Linked DNA regions of Homo sapiens: regions 1, 3 and 4 are each linked to region 2. Evidence: promoter capture Hi-C in 16 types of primary human blood cells and fetal thymus (Javierre and others, 2016). All regions are on one chromosome and are shown on one strand. Each heading gives the region's core, a stretch centred on a gene start or on the middle of the fragment in contact. The rest is flanking DNA. Distances are from core to core; before and after follow the strand shown.

Region 1 (3,519 bases), core at 566-3,065, 540 kb after region 2:
GGAAGCGGTAAGAAAGAGGGAGTAAGAAAGATGGGTAAGAACAAGCGGGGGTGAATAAGATGGAATAAGAGTGGCTAAGAGAGATGGGGCTGTAAGAAAGCAAAGCTAAGAAAGAGGAATAAGAGAGCGCAAGAAGGGGAGGAGAAAGAAACAGAAGTAAGGCAGGAAAGAACATGAAATTACAAGAACTAAGGGTCCCAGTACCTTAGAGACTTCCCTCCATCTTTTGAGCCCCAGAGTGCCAAGATGAGTCTCTGTCCATAGGCTCTGCCTCAATGTCTGTAGCCTGGACCCAGAGCCTGCCTCACCCTCACCCCAAAATGTGTGCAATCGGCCCCCTCCCAACCCTGCATCCATCAGTGTGACTCAGAGGTCCCTGTGGAATTCTCTCTGGGCTCTTCTAGTTCAGTGTTCCAGCTCCTAGGTGAGGAGGCCCCAGTGGAGTTCCTGCCCTCCTCCCAGGCAACTGCAATTAGCCCAGTAACAGGCTATGGTGGCTGGGCGCTCCCGTCATCTGCTCCTGGAGGGAGGAATGGAGGGAGCCAGCCAGGGTAGGTTGGGGAAGGGGGAGGGGTGGCCTGACATTGGGAGTGTGGCCTTTCTCCTTAATTAGACGACCTCCCCACTCAGTCCCCACACCCCCAGCCAGAGTCACCATGACAACAAGTGGGTGAGCAGATTGCTTGGGGAGGACACCAGGCCTGTGGGTGGCGAGGCAGGAACAGGCAAGGAGCTAATGAGGGGAATGGAGGAAGAAGAGTGATGTGGGGCTCAGAGGTAATCCAATTCCTCAGCCCCACAGCCGGCCAGCGGAGGCCATTGCTATCCCTCATGCCTCAGAGGTAGCCTGGGGTCCTTCTCAGGTGAAAGATCTGGCTCTCAGTGTTTGTTACAGCTTGGGCAACAAGCCTGCCTTAGACTCTGCAGCCCTGTTTCTTAGATGGACCTAGGTAGCTTGCCCTGTTTCACTAGTGTTAGGACTGAGCCAGGGGTTGACGGGGGAGGTTGTTTGGGCATTCACAGGTTCCTGGGCACTTGTCTACAAGGATGGAGGAAAGCCAGGAGGGCCCGGCTTAGGAGAGTTGTGGGGCTTGCTGGAGGCAAGGGATGCAGGGAAAGGGAAGAAATGTCTCAGAACAAGATAACAGTCAGTTCTGGGTGAACTACGGAGCTCTTTTGTTCTCCAGGATCTCAACTCTGGCTGCATATCACAATCACTCAAAGAGCTTCCAAAAAATACTCCTGTCTTGGGCTGGATGCGGTGGCTCATGATGGTAATCCCAGCACTTTGGGAGGCTGAAGCTGGTGGATTGCTTGAGTCCAGGAGTCCTAGACCAGCCTGGACAACATGGTGAAACCCTGTCTCTACATAAAAACATAGCTGGGTGTGGTGGTGCACACCTTGGATCCCACTTATTTAGGATGCTGAGGTGGGAGGGTCACCTTTGCCCAGGGGGAGGAGGTTGCAGTGAGCTGAGATCACACCATTGCACTCCAACCTGGGCAACACAGTGAGACCCTGTCTAAAAAAAAAAAAAAAAGAAAAAAAATACTCCTGTCTGGCTCACATCACATCCAGACCAACTAAGTCAGAATCCTTGTGGGTGGAGCCTACACATCTGTAGTTTTTCAAAATACCTCAGGCAATTTTAGTATGCAGCCACGGTTGAGAACCATCGGTTTGGGAGGAACTGGAAACCTGGTTTCCCACCTCCAACTCCAGGGTTCTTCCTACTGAACAATCCTACCAGCAACAGTGAATTCAAAATTTAAGAGGCAGGACACAGGGCATGGGGAGGGGAGGAGAGCTGAGGAGAACCAGGCCTGCTCTGGCATGTTAGACTCTTCAAACTCTAGCCCTGGCATAAAAGGCTTTCCAATTATGCCCTGTCCTCTGGGCTTAACCATCCTGAACCCTTGAGATGGCAGCGGGGGATGGGTGGGGTGGGAAGCATTGACCTGGCAGTGCCCTCCTTTCCCCACCTCAGTCGGGCCACTGCTGGGCTCAATCAAGTTCTGGCTGCTACAGCCCAGTTGCTATGGGAACTGGGAGGGGAAGGGAGCAGGAAATAACTAGAGGGAACACCAATTAACCCAAAAAGGAAGCTGCGAAGGCTGTCCCATCCCTCCTCCCAGCTGGGCTGCAGAGCACTCCAGAAATGGGAGGGGCAAGATGAGAGGTGTCACCACCCCTCCTGGGCTCTGCAGTTGCCAATCTAGGGAGGACCCAGAGAGCCTTACCCTCTGGCTCTGGCGCTTGCAGCCCTGGCCAGGGCATCATCATCCCCACTCTCCTCTAGAAAGAAGACTTTTACATCCCAAAGCCAGGACTCAGGGCCAGAAAGTTTAGAAAGCGGAGGCCATACCGAGCTCCTTGGTTCTGGGGCTGAAAAGCCCTCCAGGGAGGAGAGCTTTAGTTCTTGCCAACCAGGAAGTAAGCAGTTTCCTTCATGGATTCTAACTTGCTTCCATCCCTGGGGCCTGTTTCCCCATCCAAATCCTCCCTATAGGCCTTCTCTCCAGGGCTGCTTGTCTTCCTAATGTACCCTTGGGGCCCTTGGCCAGCAGCTGGAGCTGCAGCCGCAGAGCCTGTGGAGGCAAAGCAGCAATGTGAGCTACACATGGGGATGAAATCCACTGTCCACAGACACCACGGTACACTCCGCTCCCAGATTTTACCCATAGGGAAACTGAGACCCAAAGAAGAGGGTTGGCTTAGCCAAGTCAGAGGCATGCAAGAAATCAACTATAAGCCATGATTAGAAGGGAGGCAACCTGACTGCTAACCTGATGCCTCTTTGTACTGCATCCATCAGCACACAGAGAAGTGTGTGAGGAACCCCCTCGGGCAGGGTCTGAAAAGAGCCAAGTGCTCCTAGTCCCGACTCTGGGCTTTCAAAAGTTGGATCAGAACAGGGTTAGGTCAAAATCAGTCTCCTCAACCAGAGGAAGGAGATCATGGACATAACTCTGGGGACAGTAGTTCACTGGGATTGGTAGAATCAGACTGGGATTAGATGCATTAAAGGGCAAATCCAGGTGGATAATAGGGTTCTACTTAAGTGGCTGTAAAAATAAGCAACAGCTGTCCTGCTTCTCAAACTGAGCAGTCATGAGTCAAAGTGGCATGGCCTGAAGGAAAGGCAGGGGAGATGGCCAGAGAGGAGGGTGAGAACCTAGAGCCAGTGCAGTTCCAGAAAGCTCTCCCACCACCAAGCCTCTTGGGCCATCTGCTCAAAGGCCAGTGGCTGGATGGGCCCAGCCTGGACAGGGTTGGTCCAGTGGAGAAACAGTGTTCCTAATGTAGGAGCAGCTCTGAAGGGGCCTAGATAATCCCTGTCAATCAGGTGAGCAGAGGAGTCAGGGTCATGACTGTTCCAGAATAGAAGGGACCATGAGAACCATCACAACACTGCCCTATCTGCTGTTGGAATTTCCACTCCAACATCACTGCCAAGTGCTTATCCAGTTTCTGATTGTAAGCCTTGTCACAGGGGGTCATGCTGTCCTAGGGCAGCC
Region 2 (3,495 bases), core at 753-3,252:
AAAAGAAAACAAAACAAAGTACTAGCGGATCTCTTGTTCATAACTTGAGACATCTCCTGAGTAGTCTAGCTTAAGTAAATAGCAAACCATGGCAATCTTTCCCCCCAAAACTCAGCAAAAGGCCTTCACAAGGCATTTTGATCACATAAACTCCAATTTTGTCTAAGTAATCCAAGACATTCATAGGAAAACCTGAAGACTCCCCGAGCTAGTCTACTAGATTTATTTTTCCCAGAACACATGAAACTTAACATTTCCTTTTTTTCTTTTTTTTTTTTTGGAGACGGAGTCTCGCTGTCTTCCATGCTGGAGTGCAGTAGTACGATCCCGGCCCACTGCAGCCTCCGCCTCCCGGGTTCAGTTGATTCTCCTGCCTCAGCACCCCAAGTAGCTAGGATTACAGGCCCCCGCCAACCTGCCTGGCTAATTTTTCATTTTTTTGAGACGGAGTCTCACTGTCTTCCACGCTGGAGTGCAAAGGCACGATCTCGGCTCACTGCAACCTCCGCTTCCCGTCAAGCGATTCTCCTGCCTTAGCCTCCCGAGTATCTGGGACTACAGGTGCCTGCCACCACGCCCGGCTAATTTTTGTATTTTTTGTAGAGGTGGGGTTTCACCATGTTGGCCAGGCTGGTCTCGAACTCCTGACCTCGTGATCCGCCCGCCTCGGCCTCCCAAAGTGCTGGGATTACAGGCGTGAGCCACCGCGCCCGGCCAATATTTCCATTTTTGTGGTGAAGTTATACGCAACATGACCAAATCTTAGTTGGTGAGGGAGGTAAAAGACCCTTAAGGGCAAGAAGAGGTTAGAACTTTCAAATTTATGCCCCTCTGGTGGTGCAATGCAGAGATTTCCCTCATATTTCCGGGGAATTTCCCTCGAATTTCGTTTCCCACCCTGTGAAAGCAGCAAGGTTAGGAAAGCGGGGGCGGGGCGGGGGCGGGTAGTTTTGATTAAAAGGAAGGAAAAGAAAAACAGAGAAAAGCAAAAGGGGAAAATAAACTGAGCCTACTGAGGAGATGCGGCGACGGCGACAGTTTCCCGGGGCTGCTCAGCGCCTTGGGGCCTACAGGAGACGCGGGAGCACGCCCCCGGCGGCGCCGGCCTCGAGCGGTGTCACGGAGTTGTAGTGCTCGCCGAGGCTGTAGGCATAGCGCAGGTAGACCAGGATGATCGGCTTCTTGACGTACTCCTCCCCGATGATCAAGGTGGGCGAGTCGGCCTGGATCACCTCGATGGGGGTCTTCAGGACGTGCGACAGGGCCCTCAGCTCCAGCTGGCCTCCCCATGCCGTGGTGCGCACGATGTTGTCGCAGTAGATCATGAAGTCGTCGTAGCCGAAGGAGTCGCTGGTCTCGGGGTTGCTGAAGAAGGGCAGGAACTCGTCGACGTGCTTCTTCATGTAGCTGGCGGTGCGGCAGCGCAGCATCTCCACAGACACGCTGAACACCAGCTGGTCTTGGATGGCGCGGTACATGCAGTGGCCGTCGGCCGGGATCGCTTTCATCTCCAGACCCCTGGCTCCCAGGATGGCGGCGAGCTTCTCCTCCTCCTCGCGCTTGAAGCCGGCCAGGTGCTCCGACATCTCAGCCTGGAAGATGCTCTCCTGGCGCTCCCTCTCCTCGGACTCCATTCTTTCTCTCTTTCTGTGGGCTTTGGAGGAGCGGGGAGGCCGGTTTTCCAGATTCATCTTGGCCAGGTCTTCGACGACAGATTCAATGCTACTGTCGTCTTGGAACTTCTCCAGCTCCTGCCGGTGCTTCTGAGCCATCTCGGCCTCCATGCGGGCCACGTCTTGGAGCAACTGCTTTCTTTTCGTCTTGTCGGTCTTGGGGACCGAGTTTTTTAAGCTCCGGATCTGGGCCTGCAGCTCCTGCCTCTCGCGTTGGTGGCGGCGCAGTATGCGCTGCTGTTCACTCTTCGGATCATCCATGATGTTGAATGGCAAGCGGGAGTTGAAATTTGCTGGCAGTTCAAGTACCGAACAGACCAGAAGTCCTCAGCCTGTCCTAACGGTCGCTCTCTTTCACCTCACCGGCTCTAACCGCCGCTCTAGGCTCACCTCAGCCTCCGCTTCCCCTCCCCCATTCGCATTCTTCTCTGCCTTTGGTCACTGTGTCTCCATGGCCACGCCCCCGCAAGTGCTAGGCCACTTGCTGGGCCACCCGCAAATGCCCAGTGCTAGGATTGGCTGTTGGGAGACCGGAAGTATGAGCCCATTGGACCCCACAGCAAAGGTTTTTGGCGGGATTCAAATATGGCCTTCCTGCAATGTGTGTGGCAGTTGGGCCTGTAGAGTCTTTCGCTGATTGAGAGCCGACTTCATTTCCAAGTCTGCACACAATGCAGGCAGTAGCCATGCCTGACAGCCACATGACAGATACTACACCGCTGAATGTGCTCTAACCCTGGACTTGGCATTGCCCCTACTGTTGAGGAAGCAGTGCGTTTTTCTCCAGTCTTTCAGGTCCCTTCACCAGGGAACCATTAACTTGTGCATCAGAACAAGGACATTTCCTTACATTCCTGCAAACACAGTCCTTTCAGTTTACTCTTTTTTTGAGGGGGGGGCGCGGGGAACGGAGTCTCGCTCTGTCGCCCAGGCTGGAGTGCAATGGTGCAATCTCAGCTCACTGCAACCTCTGCCTCCCAGGTCCAAGCGATTCTCCTGCCTCAGCCTCCCGGGTAGCCGGGACTACAGGCGCCTGCCACCACGCCCGGCTAATTTTTGTATTTTTAGTAGAGACGAGGTTTCGCCGTGTTGGCCAGGCTGGTCTTGGAACTCCTGACCTCAGGTGATTTACTCGCCTCGGCCTCCCAAAGTGCTGGCATGAGCCACTGTGCCCAGTCACAAGTTTTTATTTTAGCCATTTTGATAAGTGTGAAGTTCCCTGATGGCTAATGATGTTCCTTTTTTCATGTGCTCATTTGTCATCTATGCCATATCCTTTTCAGTAAAATGTTTATGTCATTTGCCTATTTTCTCTCTCTTTTTTTTGGGGGGGGTGGAGTCTAGCTCTGTCACCGAGGGTGGAATGCAGTGGCGTGATCATGGCTCATTGCAGCCTCAAACTCCTGGGCTCAGGCTCAGGTGATCCTCCTGCCTCAACATCCTGAGTAGCTGGGACTACAGGCACCACCATACTTGGCTAATTTTGGGGAATTTTTTTTTTTTTTTTTTTTTTGCCAGATGCGGTGGCTCACGCCTGTAATCCCAGCACTTTGGGAGGCCAAGGTGGGAGGATGTCTTGAGGTCAGGAGTTCCAGACCAGCCTGGGCAACATGGTGAAGCCCTAACTCTACTAGAAATACAAAAATTAGCCAGGTGTGGTGGTGTGTGCCTGTAGTCCCAACTACTCCTGGGGGCTGAGGTGGGAGGATAGCTTGAGCCTGGGAAGCAGAAGTTGTAGTGAGCCAAGATAGCGGCACTGCACTCCAGTCTGGGCTCAAGTGGTCCTCCACCTCTGCCTTCCAAAGTGCTGGGATTACAGATG
Region 3 (3,210 bases), core at 651-3,150, 590 kb after region 2:
CAGCGTTCTTTAGTTAGTGTTATCATGGTATATCTTTCTCCATCCCTTTATTTTTTCAAGTTAGCTATCTTGGCTTTACTTTTTTTGCATTTTAAATGTAGTAATATACATAACATAAAACTTACCATTTAAAAATGTACAATTCGGTGGCATTAAATACATTCACAATGTCAAGCAACCATCACCACTATCAATTTCCAGAATGTTTTCATCACTACAAACAGAAACGCTGCACCTATTAAATAATAAGTCCTAATTTTTCCCTTCCCCTGGCTCCTAGTAGCCTCTATTCTATTTTCTATCTCTGCAAATGTGCCTATTCTGAGTATCTCATAGAAATAAAATTATGCTATGTTTGTCCTTTTGTGTCTGGCTTACTTCACTTAGCATAATGTTTTCAAGGTTCATCCATGTTATAACATGCATCAGAATTTAATTTCTTTTTAAGGCTGAACAATATTCAATTTTATGTATTTACCACATTTTGTTCATTCATTCATGTGTTGATGGACACTTGAGTTGTTTGCACATTTTGGCTATTGTGAATAAAGCTGCTATGAACCTTGGTGTACAAGTATCTGTTTGAGTCCCTGCTTTCAGTGCTTTTCAGTATACTCAGGAGTGAAATTGCCAGTTCACATGGTAACTCTACATTTAAGAACGATCAAATTGTTTTTTCACAGTAGCTGCACCATTTTACATTCCCAATAGTAATGCAAGAGGGTTCCAATTATCCACATGCTTGCTAACATTTGTTATTTCACATTTTTAAAAATAATGTCATCCCTAATGGGTGTAAAATGGTCTCTCATTGTGGTTTTAATATGCATTTCTCTAATTAGTGAAGTTGAGCATCTTTTCATATGATTGTTGGCCATCTGTACATCTTCTTTGGAGAAATGTTTTACTCAAGTTATTTGCCCATTTTCAAATTGGGTTGTTTGTTTCTTCTGTTATTGAATGGTAGAAGTTCTTTATATATTCTGAATATTAATTCCTTATCAGATACATGATTTGTAAAGCTTTTCTTTCATTCTGTGGGTTGTCTTTTCTTTTGTTAGTGTCCTTTGATGCACAAAAGTTTTTGATTTGTTGAAGCCTCATTTATCTATTTTTTTCTTTTGTTGCCTGTGTTTTTGTTGTCATATCAAATGCCACATCCAATGTCCCATGTGTTCTAAGAATTTTATAGTTTTAGATCTTATGTACAGGTATTTGATCCATTTTGAATTAATTTTTGTATACGGTGCTGAGTAAGGATCCAACTTCATTCTTTTAAATGTAGATATTCAGTCTTCCTACCACCATTTGTTGAAAAGGTATTTCTTTCCCCCATTGAATGGTCTTTGTACCTTTGTCAAAAATAAAATGTTGACTATATAGGTGAATGTTTATATCTGGGCTCTCTATTCTATTCCATTCATCTATATGTCTGTCCTTATGTCAGTACCATACTGTTTTCATTATTGTAGATTTGTAGTAAGTTTTGAGATCCAGAGGTGTGAGACAGCTGGGCAGTGGTTCACACAAGTAATCCCAGCACTTTGGGAGGCTGAGGCAGGAGGATTACTTGAGGCCAGGTGTTCTAGGCCAGCCTGGGAAACATAGTGAGACCACTGTCTCTATAAAAAATTTAAAAATTAGCTGAGCATGGTGACACATACCTGTAGTCCTAGCTACTCAGGGAGGCTTAGGTGGGAGGATCTCGAGCACAGGAGGTTGAGGCTTTAGTCAGCCATGATTGCACCACTGCATTTCAGCCTGGGTGACAGTGCAAGGCCCTGTCTCAAAAAAAAAAAGTGTGAGTCCTCTGACTTTTTTCCTTCTTTTTCAAGGGTGTTTTGACTATTTGGGGTCCCTTGAGATTCCATATGAAGTTTAGGATGGGTTTTTCTATTTATGTGAAAAAAAACCTCAATTAGGATTTTTGATGAGGATTGCATTGAATCTGTAGATAGCTTTGAGTATTATTGTCATCTTAATCTTAAATCTTCCAATCCATGATAACCAGATGTCTTGCTATTTATTTATGTTTTCTTTCAGCAGTGTTTGTAGTTTTCATTTACAAGGCTTTTGACTTCTTGGTTAAATTTATTCTTAAGTATTTTATTCTTTTCAACGCTATTGTAAATGGAATTACTTTTTTTTTTTGAGACAGAGTTTCACTCTTGTTGCCCAGGCTGGAGTGCAATGGTGCGATCTTGGCTCACTGCAACTTCTGCCTCCCAGGTTCAAGCAATTCTCGTGCCTCAGCCTCCCGAGTAGCTGGGATTACAGGCATGCGCCACCACGCCTGGCTAATTTTTGTATTTTTAGTAGAGACAGGGTTTCTCCATGTTGGTCAGACTGGTCTTGAACTCCTGACCTCAGGTGATCCACCTGCCTCGGGCCTCCCAAAGTGCTGGGATTATAGGCATGAGCCACTGCGTCCAGTTGGAATTACTTCTTAATATCCTTTTTGGATTGTTCCTTCCTAGTTGACAAAATGCAACTAATATTTTGTGTGTTGATTTTGTGTTCTGCAACTTGGCTGAATTTATTTATTAGTTCTAACAGTTTTCTTTTCTGGAATCTTTAGTGTTTTCTACATACAGGATCATGTTGTCTGTGAAAGAGATAATTTTAATCCTTCCTTTCCAATGAGGATGCCTTTTATTTATTTATTTATTTATTTATTTTTGCCTAATTGCTCTGGCCAGAACTTCCAATATTATGTTAAATAGAAGTGGTAAAAGTGGGCATTTCTTCCTTATTCCTGATCTTAAAGGAAAAGCTTCCAAACTTTTACCATTGAGTATGATGTTAGCTATGGGTTTTTCAATATTTCCTTTATGATGTTGAGGAAAGTAAGATAGGGGTTGGCAGATGAAACTAATATTTATTGCACACATGTTATATGCCAGACACTCTTCTAGGTATGTTTATGCATAATTAAGTCATTCAACAAATATTTATTGAATGCTAGGTGGCAGGCACCACAGATACAATGGGAAGCAAAAGATTCATGATCTTTCTACCATGGAGACTACAGTCAACTGAGTGAGACAGGCATTGCAGACAGATGGTGTATGTATGCAAATAAATAAATAAATGAGATGATGGCTGGGAAGGAAAGAAACAGGGTACTTAGGGATACCCTGAGAAAGAAAGAGTAATTATGGGAGTCCGTTTTTGGTAGACAGGGAAGACTTCTCTGAGGGAGTTGCATTT
Region 4 (3,561 bases), core at 429-2,928, 520 kb after region 2:
CTTTGGTCAGGTAATGGAGGTGGGCCTTGGTTGGCAGGGTGCCATACACAGATGCAAGGGCTCTGCCCACTTCAGAGATCCCTCTCCAGATAACTGGGAGAAGCACTTTCGGAGAAGGAGGGTTTAAGACCTGGTCTTTGGGTGCACTGCTGTTGCCAAACTTCTTTTCACTTTAGCCACAATCCCCAGAAGGCTGAACTTCTGGGTGCCAAGAAGGCAGCCCAAACGAGGAATTTTTAGAGCTTGAATGTAGCCAGCCTGAGCAGAATAGAGGAGATGGCCCAGGCAAGAAGAAGCAGAGTAAACACGATTTATGTACACTTGGACATAGAATGACGACTGTGTAAATGACTGCAAATGAAAGGCTGGGGTACTGCAGACTCCAGGTTGTTTCCTGTGCAGCCTTGATTGTGATTCAACTTGTCTGTGACTTCAGGTTGTCTTAGGAGGGATACTGGAATTGGTTTTTTTGTTCCTTTTGTATCTACTGCAGGATTTATTAAAACAAGATTTTTTTTTTCACTTAGATTCATGGTGTAAAATTCAAAAGAAATACAAAGGTATATATTGAAAAAAAAGCATGTCTTCTTTCTCTCCCAGCTACACAATTCTTTTCCCCAGAGGCAGCACTGGTCACCAATTTCTTGACTTATCCTTCCATAGATATTTTACGTCTACACTATATTCAGACATCCTTCCAGAGATATTCTATACAAATACAAATATAAGCAAGTACATGTGTGCGTGTTTATATTTCCCTTTTCCCCTTCCTACAGAAATGGAAGCATATCGTACACACCACTCTTCATGTTCTTTTTAATGATCACATAGTATTCCACTGTAGGTATGTGTCAAATTGATGACATTTCAGTTCTTTCTAATAGTTTCTATTATTCATGATGCTGTACATACATCACTTGGCAGAGATGTGAGTGTATCTTACTAGAATTGTTATTACTATTGAGTCCTTGAGCCAAATTTTAAACCCAACTTTGGGGCTGCAGGAGAGGATGCTCTGGAATGCCATGGCCTCATTTTGCCTCCCTTTACCATCTTTGCTGCTTCTCTTGACCTTCAAGTTGGTGTGACTAAGTGCCATTCTGGGACATTAAAGAGAAGGCAGGCAAAGGTTTCTGACTGGCCTGGTAGGGATCTCTTGAGATGTCCCCATTGGCTGACAATTTCTGCTTCATGATGTTCCTTGCCCCTTGTACCATTTAAGCAGTGGTGAGAGATGACAGACTGGTTTTAGAGGCCAGGAAGATAATGAAAACCCACGTAGCTAGCTGCATGTAAGATGACAAATGGCAAGTGACACCTGGCTTCAGTGTCAGGGACCAAATGGGAATTTACAGGACTGAGGCTGACCAGGAAAGAGCACATCCCACCTGAAGAGGGCGGATTCCATTCTAGGCAACAGTGGAGATCCAGGGCTGTCAGATCTTCTGAATATTTAAGGGGAAGTGAGAAATTTGAGTTTTATGTGAATTCTCCCCAATTTGTATATAATAATAATAGTAATAACAAACACATAGCATTTACTATGTGTCAGATACTATTCTAAGAGCTTTAGATATAACTCAACACTCATAGTAACCCTATGAGGTAGAGTACTATTTTTTAAATCTCCATTTTACAGATGAGCAAGATGAAGCACAGAGAGTTTAAGTAACCTTCCCAGAGTCACAGAGAACAAGTGACAGAGGCAGGATGCAAACCTAAGCTATGTTGTTAATGACTACACTATACAACCTCTTATAGAGGAAACCCAACTCAAATTTAAATACTGAATAGATCAACACTGCCAAGTTAAACAAAATAGCTCTGGAAGCTCCAGGTGGAGACTTCTACATTAGAAAGGGTTTGGCATGAGGCTGGCTGTTGCTCTGATGGTCCTGCAAACCTCAACATTGACTGAGTTCCCCTGCCATCATTCAGAGCCAGGCCAGGTGTCAGCATGGCCCAGGAGCCAGGTGAAAGCCCTTCACCTGGCTTCAGTCACATTGCCTGCTTTTTCAATCACTCTTGAGAACAGGGTGAGGGTACAGGGCTGGGGCCAGTTGACCTAGCTTTGGATCTTCAACAGATCATGAAACCATGGATGGAAAGCTGCTGGCACTGGTCTTAGAGTTGGAGTTCTTGGCTTCTATTCCTGGCCTTCTGCTCTGCATTTTGCTTGTTTATTTTGGGTGAGTGGATCTTTTGGCCTCCTCAAGCCTCAGTTTTTTTAATCTGTAAACCTAAATTAATTTCTACTGTGCATGGTTATTGTGAGGATTAGCAAGACACTGTGTGTATGTATACATGCAGTACAAGTGGAAAAGGGTATTCTAAGCAGCAGAGCTAATTTGGGGGACAGGAAGCTGTCATTTCCCAGAGGAAGTTACCCCAAGATGGAGCCAGGGAAGAGGAACTGTCTCTTCCTCTTATCCCAGCCTTCTCAGGGCTGTGTCTTTCATTCCAAGCTCTTTTGTCCACTAGGCCACAAATGAGCCATATCTGACCCTGGGCATTGATTCCAGGAGTCCAAGGGCCCAGGGCATCTTGAAATTAACCATCAGTGTTTGTCTGCCAATAAATCTACCTTTGCAATTTTCCTCTTCACCTGTATGCTTTTCCATGTTAATTTTCAGGTTTGTGTTCTGGGTTCAACAAGGCTAAGATCAATATAGGAGTCTCTGACCTTTCCTCAAGAACGGCTACCTACAGTCTTAGTATCTGTGAATAGCAGGTTCCTCAAGAAAAACAAAAACAAAAAACCAACCCAAGTGCTGAAAGTGAAACTCGATATTACAGAGAAGCCTGGTCATGCATGTCATCAAGCACTTTGTGGCAGGATGCTGTGTGCTCGTTGAGAATAAAGCCTCCTGCCTCCTGTACCAGCAGGAGGGTCATGAGGGGACAAGACAGAGGAGAAGAGGGAACAAGGAGATGGCAGGAGAGGACAGATCCTGGGAACAGGGGAAAAAGAGAGGGGCCAAAGGAATAAATACGGATGTGCTCTAGTGTTCCAGGGCAGGCAGGAATTGTGTTCTCTGCATCTCTCTAGTCTTGTGACAATGTGATCATGAGTTAAGGCTGTTCAAATAGATGCTATGGAGCCCTGTATAGAGTCTTACAGAGCCTCCCACTCTGTTCGGTTCCTGTTCTAATTCCTCTTCTACTCAGGGCAGCCCACCAGGGGTATGCCTTTGAGTCTGGATGTGAGTTGAAGTGAGTTGGCCAAAATGGTCAGAATGTGGAAGGCCTTGAACACCAGCTTTCGATTTTTTCCCAAACAATGGGAACCATTAGAGGGGCAGGATGCCAGGCCAGTGCTCCAGGAGGCTCCTGGCTCTGTGCGAAGGTGTCTGGGCTGCAAGGGCAGGAGGCTAGAGGCAGGAATGCCAGTTGGGAGGTAATGAAGATCTGGGCAGACAACAGCAGTGACGAAGGAGAGATCAGTTTAGGATATAGAATATATATATGGGGTGGTGGCAGATGTAATCTGGGACACATGGCAGGAGGGTGGAAAGGGCCACTGGAGGAGTCCCAGAAGATTGGCTTCTTGCTCCAGGGGCC

Evidence for each region. Contacts are between HindIII fragments. The CHiCAGO score rates a contact against its expected background, and 5 or more counts as called.
Region 1: a fragment that was not itself captured here is called in contact with the fragment with the promoter of OTUD6A in region 2 in 1 of 17 cell types (M0 macrophages); the score reaches 6.2 in M0 macrophages.
Region 3: a contact is called between a fragment that was not itself captured here and the fragment with the promoter of OTUD6A in region 2, in 1 of 17 cell types (non-activated CD4 T cells). The highest score is 5.3, in non-activated CD4 T cells.
Region 4: a fragment that was not itself captured here is called in contact with the fragment with the promoter of OTUD6A in region 2 in 2 of 17 cell types (M0 macrophages and M1 macrophages); the score reaches 6.1 in M0 macrophages.

The regions. Positions count from the first base shown.
Region 1 is chrX:69,522,123-69,525,641 of GRCh38, reverse strand. All of the region lies in intron 1 of NALF2 (NALCN channel auxiliary factor 2), which reads right to left. Among named protein-coding and RNA genes, the nearest start is that of NALF2, 20 kb to the right of the region's middle. The HindIII fragment of the contact is 6,171 bases long and covers 1-3,519 here.
Region 2 is chrX:70,060,964-70,064,458 of GRCh38, reverse strand. OTUD6A (OTU deubiquitinase 6A) reads right to left here and starts at 2,002. Exons shown (of 1, transcript NM_207320.3): 1 at 280-2,002. The coding sequence starts at 1,934. The coding sequence ends at 1,068. The HindIII fragment of the contact is 21,287 bases long and covers 1-3,495 here.
Region 3 is chrX:69,472,742-69,475,951 of GRCh38, reverse strand. No RefSeq gene overlaps it. Among named protein-coding and RNA genes, the nearest start is that of NALF2, 30 kb to the left of the region's middle. The HindIII fragment of the contact is 1,751 bases long and covers 1,025-2,775 here.
Region 4 is chrX:69,538,912-69,542,472 of GRCh38, reverse strand. No RefSeq gene overlaps it. Among named protein-coding and RNA genes, the nearest start is that of NALF2, 36 kb to the right of the region's middle. The HindIII fragment of the contact is 6,274 bases long and covers 1-3,561 here.